Linked DNA regions of Homo sapiens: region 1 is linked to region 2. The links are contacts of gene promoters, found by promoter capture Hi-C in human tissues and cell types (Jung and others, 2019). All regions are on one chromosome and are shown on one strand. Each heading gives the region's core, a stretch centred on a gene start or on the middle of the fragment in contact. The rest is flanking DNA. Distances are from core to core; before and after follow the strand shown.

The links. Contacts are between HindIII fragments. The study calls those that stand out against the background at their distance.
Region 1: a contact is called between a fragment that was not itself captured here and the fragment with the promoter of TMEM14C in region 2, in 1 of the 25 tissues and cell types used here (H1 embryonic stem cells).

The regions. Positions count from the first base shown.
Region 1 is chr6:10,472,399-10,475,203 of GRCh38, forward strand. All of the region lies in intron 1 of LINC02522 (long intergenic non-protein coding RNA 2522), which reads right to left. Among named protein-coding and RNA genes, the nearest start is that of LINC02522, 8.2 kb to the right of the region's middle. The HindIII fragment of the contact is 5,008 bases long and covers 1-2,805 here.
Region 2 is chr6:10,721,423-10,724,343 of GRCh38, forward strand. TMEM14C (transmembrane protein 14C) reads left to right here and starts at 1,648. Exons shown (of 6, transcript NM_016462.4): 1 at 1,648-1,819. RefSeq lists a silencer at 1,579-1,708 and an enhancer at 1,648-2,544. The HindIII fragment of the contact is 20,984 bases long and covers 1-2,921 here.

The DNA.
Region 1 (2,805 bases), core at 295-2,794, 250 kb before region 2:
ACAATAGTATCAAAAAGAATAAAATACTTGGAAATAAACTTAACCAAGAAGACAAAAGACTGTACGCTAAAACTTTAAAACATTGCTGAAAGCACTTAAAGAAGACACAAATAAATGGAATGACATCTGTGCTCATGATTGGAAGACTTAGTTTTGTTAAAATGTCAACACTACCCAAAACAATCTTAATGTAATCATTTAGCAAATGATTATGACTATGATTTCATATTTGTTGGGGGCATAAGAAAATCATATGCATTATGATTACATTAAGCAAACAATGTAATCCCTATTAAAAAATCCAATTAAAAATTTATCCTAAAATTTATGTGGACTCTCAAGGGACCCTGGATAGCCAAAATAAGCTTGAGAAAGAAGGACAAAGCTGGAGGCATCACACTTCCTGATTTCAAAATATATTACAAGACGAGAATCGCTTGCCAGGAAGCGCAGGTTGCAGTGAGCTGAGCCTAGATTGTGCCACTGCACTCCAGCCTGGGCAACAGAGCAAGACTGTCTCAAAAAAAATTTTATGTATGTATAAATTTTATGTATACATAAAAATTTTTATACATACATAAAATTTTTTAGACAGTCATATATGGTAACAATAATCAAAACAGTGTGGTACTGGCATAAAAACAGACACATAGACCAATGGAATAGAAGAGAAAGCCCAGAAGTAAACCCTTGCCTATATGATTGAATGACTTTTTACATGGGTGTTGAGACCATTCAATGGAGAAAGGGGTCTTTTCAACAAATAATATTGGGAAAACATGAATGTCCACATGCAGAAGAAGAAAGTGGGACCCTTACCTTACACCGTTTGTAACAATTAACATAAAATAGATCAAAGACCTAAATGTAAGGCCTAAACTATAAAATTTCTAGAAGAAAACATAGAGGGAAAGCTTTACAATGACATTGGATTTGACAATGATTTCTTGGTTGTGTTACCAAGAGCACAAGCCACAAAAATAAAATAGATAAATGTTTTGTTTGTTTGAGACAGGGTCTTGCTCTGTCACCCAGACTGGAGTGCATTGCCATAATTATGGCTCACTGCAGCCTTAACCTGCCAGGCTTAAGCAATCCTCTCATCTCAGCTTGTCGAATAACTGGGATCACAGATGCATGCCACCACACCTGGCTAATTTTTCTGTGTTTTAGTAGAGGCAAGGTTTTGCCATGTTGCCCAGGCTGGTCTCAAACTCTTAGGCTCAAGCAATCCACCCACCTCAACCTCCCAAAGTGCTGGGATTACGGGTGTGAGCCACCAGGCCCAGCCATAAAATAGATAAATTATACTACATTAAACTTAGAAACTTCTCGGCATCAAAGGACACAATCAACAGAGTGAAAAGGCAACCAATGGAATGGGGAAAAAATGTTTGCAAATCATACATCTGATAAGGTGTTAATATCCAGAATACATAAATAGCTCCTACAACTCAACAACAACAAAAACAAAACTATCTGATTTAAAAATGTGCAAAGGAGGTGCAGTGGCTCAAGCTTGTAGTCCCAGCTACTGGGAGGCCAATGTGGGAGGATCACTTGAGCCCAGGAGTTGGAGACCAGCGTAGGCAACACAGCAAGTGATATAGCTTGGCTGTGTCCCTACCCAAATCTCATCTTAAATTGTAGTTCCCATAATTCCCATGTGTCATGAGGGAACCAGTGGGAGGTAACTTAATCATAGAGGCAGGTCTTTCCTGTGCTGTTCTTGTGATAGTGGATATCTCACAAGATGTGATGGTTTTATAAAGGGAAGTTCCCCTGCACACACTTTCTTGCCTGCTGCCATTTAAGATGTGACTTTGCTCCTCCTTTGCCTCCCTAGCAATGTGGAACTGTGAGTCAATTAAACCTTTCTTTTATGAATTACCCAGCTTCAGGTATGTCTTTATGAGCAGTGTGAGAGCAGACTAATACAGCGAGACTCTGACTAAAAAAAAAAAAAAAAAAGAGAGCAGAGGACTTGAATAAATATTTCTCCAAAGAAGATAAACAAATGACCAATAACACATGAAAATATGTTTCCCATCACTAATCACTAGGGAAATGCAAATCCAAATCACAATGAGACACCACTTACTGTGTGTGTCTCCTTTTGTTTTCTTTTTTCCTTGGGCTGCATCTGGGTCCTGGTAATACTCCTTCCATTGCACAACTAATTCAATGTTTGAACTCTGGAAAGGAACACAAGTGGATATAAAAAGTTTAAAATTTGACATTGATAAAATAGTTGGAAATGTGCATGCAGTAGCAGCAGATTCTGGTACACTGCCTCCTGCCCCTGGGCTTGCCTCTAATTTCAGCTGCTGCTATGGTAGACAGTTCCATGAGAGCTCAGCTGCCTGCTTGCCTCAAGCCTATGCTCTACAACTCTGCTTTTCTGCCTTCTCCAAATCATGCGAGCCTCCGAAGTGCACCATGGTGCACCAGATGCATGGAATTAATGCATCTGGTGGCAATCTTCCCATGATAGAGGATGAGAGCCAATGACAAGTGCCCCAGCTCCCAAATGCTGGGAGGAATTCTGTACACTTCTTAGAGGTGCTGGTGGAATCAGCCCCTGTTGCTTAGAGCAGCAACCTGGAGAACGGCCATATAGTTAAGCTCCTTTTACTCTAGAAAAAGATAACAAAAGGTTGAAAGCAATTACCAAGCAATTGAAATCTGAGTATGAATGCCAGAGAACCTCTTTGGAAGTGTACAGAGAAACTCTCTTTTGCATTGGGAGGCCAGAGAAAGCTGAGGACCAGGGCTAAGAATTAATCATCTGAGACCAAAGAAGGT
Region 2 (2,921 bases), core at 398-2,897:
GGTGGGGACGTGGAGAACTTTTGTATCTAGCTCAGGGATTGTAAACGCACCAATCAGCACCCTGTCAAAACAGACCACTCGGCTCTACCAATCAGCAGGATGTGGGTGGGGCCAGATAAGAGAATAAAAGCAGGCTGCCCAAGCCAGTAGTTGTAACGCACTTGGGTTTTCTTCTATGTGGAGGAGGCTTTGTTCTTTCTCTTTTTCTTTTTGCAACAAATATTGCTGTTGCTCGGTGCTTAGGTCCTGTGTTGTCTTTACAAGTGGTAACGCTCACTGCGAAGATTTGCAGTTTTGCTCCCAAAGCTACGAAGACCACGATCCCACCGGAAAGAACAAACATATTCCAGACGCACTGCCTTAAGAGCTTTAACATTCGTTATAGAAGTCTGTAGCTTTGCTCCTTGAGCCAGTCCAAAGCTAGGGAGACCACGATCCCACCGGGAAGAACAAACAATTCCAGACACACTGCCTTAAGAGCTTTAACATCCACCACAGAGGTCTGTAGCTTTGCTCGTTGAGCCAGTGAGACAGCAAACCCACCAGCAGAAAAACTCCCTGAATACTTCTAAACATCGGAAGAAAAACTCTAGAGACACTGCTTTTAAGAACTAACACTCATCGCGAGGGTCTGCAGCTTTCTCAAGTCAGACCAAGAAGCCATCAATTTTGAACACACTGGCACGTTGTGATCTCTCACTATCTCCACTAAAAATAACAAAAATTAGCCTGGCAGCCAGGGGTGGTGGTACAGGCCTATAATCCCAGCTACTCAGGCAGCTGAGGCAGGAGAATCAGTTGAACATGGGAGTCAGAGGTAGTGGTGAGACAAGATCATACGCTGCACTCCAGCCTGGGCAATAGAGTGAGACTCCACATAAAAAAAAAAAAAACTTGGCTGGAATTCGCTTTATTCACTGACAATTATATTGGTCAGATTTGTGTATGTTGATACTTGTAGGGGATGGAGAGGGAGAAGTCAACGATGACAGCAAATTTTAGTGTAGAGCAACTAAGAGAATGGTGGTGCAGGAAACGGAATAGGAGTGACTCCAAGTGGGAATGGAGATAATATGCTGTGGATATTTTGGGTCCACAGAGCTGGGTAAAAATCAGGTTTAACTTACTCCCCATCCCCCTTTAAGATGCTTCTCAAGCAGCCTCACTCCCTAAAACAAACGGATATTTGGCTTTGAGCCACATTATTCTGCAGCCCCCGTATTTTCTTCCAGGCAGGCCCTTCCTGGTGTAGACAAGATCGGGCTTGAGTGACACTCCTCCCTGATGGCCTGCATCTGGTTTATACCCTGTAACTTGTTCCTCTATTAATGGGGTCCTTCAAAATCCAGCCTCAGATTCCCTGGTCCCGCAGCGGTGGCCTCACCTCTGGCGTGGCCGAGCTCACGTGGTCCGGCTTGTGCAAGTCCCAGGTCCAACTCCGGGTCTCCTGCTTTTGGCCACTCAGGATTGGACCTGGGACTGATACTGGTCGGCCCTGCAGGCGCTGCGGACAGGGGAAGCACAGAGATTCCCCGCCGCGTTCCCTGGACTCAGGAGCTCGCCGCGATGCCCCGCCCCACTCTCCACCCGCTGAATGCAGGGCGCATGCTGCTACTTGGCGGCTCAAGCCCCGCCCGCACCGTCCCCATTCTCTGACCGCCCCTCTCCCGGTACACTGCGCAGGCACAACAGAGCCGCTCCCCTCTCCTCGCCCCGCCACCGGGACGGAGAGCGCCCGCCGCTGCATTTCCGGCGACACCTCGCAGTCATTCCTGCGGCTTGCGCGCCCTTGTAGACAGCCGGGGCCTTCGTGAGACCGGTGCGAGTATTTGGGGATTATTCTTATTTTCTGCCACTTTTAACTTTTAGGGATTATTTAGGAGTTTCACGGCCGTCTGCTTTTCGTCCCCCCGATTCAGCGGGCCTTCAGGCCGTGTGGTCGGTGCTTTTCTCGTTGGGTATTTTCTGCTTTTAAAAGAAGTTGTGGATGCGCGGAGCCCCTGGGCTCCTGAGGCAAAGGCTTACCCATGTAGCATAGTGTTGCCTCGTTTCTTGGTGATTTTCTTGCTCCATCTCTTTAAAAGCCTCCCTTACTCGGTGCCGTCTCGAGTTAAGAACTGTGGGCAAGATCCCAAGCCCGCTGCCCTTCCCTGTTTTATGGAAACTTAATTCTTTTTTTTTTTTTTTTTGTCCTTGAGGGAGGGACTTGCTCTGTCGCCCATGCTTGAGTGCAGTTGCCTGAATATGTCTCATTGCAGCCTCTGCCTCCTGGGCTCAAGCCATCCTCCCACTTCAGCCTCCCAAGTAGCTGGGATTTACAGTCGCATATCACCATGCGCGATTAATTTTTTTATATTTTTTAGTAGACAATGGGTTTCACTATGTTGGCCAGGCTGGTCTTGAACTCCTAACCCCAGGTGATCCGCCCGCCTCGGCCTCCTAAAGTACTGGGATGACAGGCGTCAGCCACTGCGCTTGGCCTAATTCTTTAAACAGAATAAACGGGGTATGCATTGCTTTCATCTTTTGGCTCACTGGACACAGGATACTTTCTGTAAGAAAATAGAAGCTGTTTTTCCAAGGGTGTAGTGTCACATGTGAATATGACCACTGTTTCCGTATATTTTATCCTCTCCTACTACTGCCCTCCTAACAAGAACTGTGAGTTGGACGCAGAAGTTTCTAAAAAAGTTGAGCTTTGAAATTGGCTGTTGCAGCAGGGATGAAAAGCAACACCCCTACCTCCCCTCAAAAGAGACATTAAAGTAGTTGGATTAAGGGCACGGGAGTATTTGCTTTTGAATTTAGTGATAACATGGGTAGCTGATGAAATGACTAACACATTCCCTGATTTTAGAGCTGGTCAGTGGATCTTGCTGAGTTTCCCGTGGGCCTATGTGATTAAAACTGAGGTTTTCATG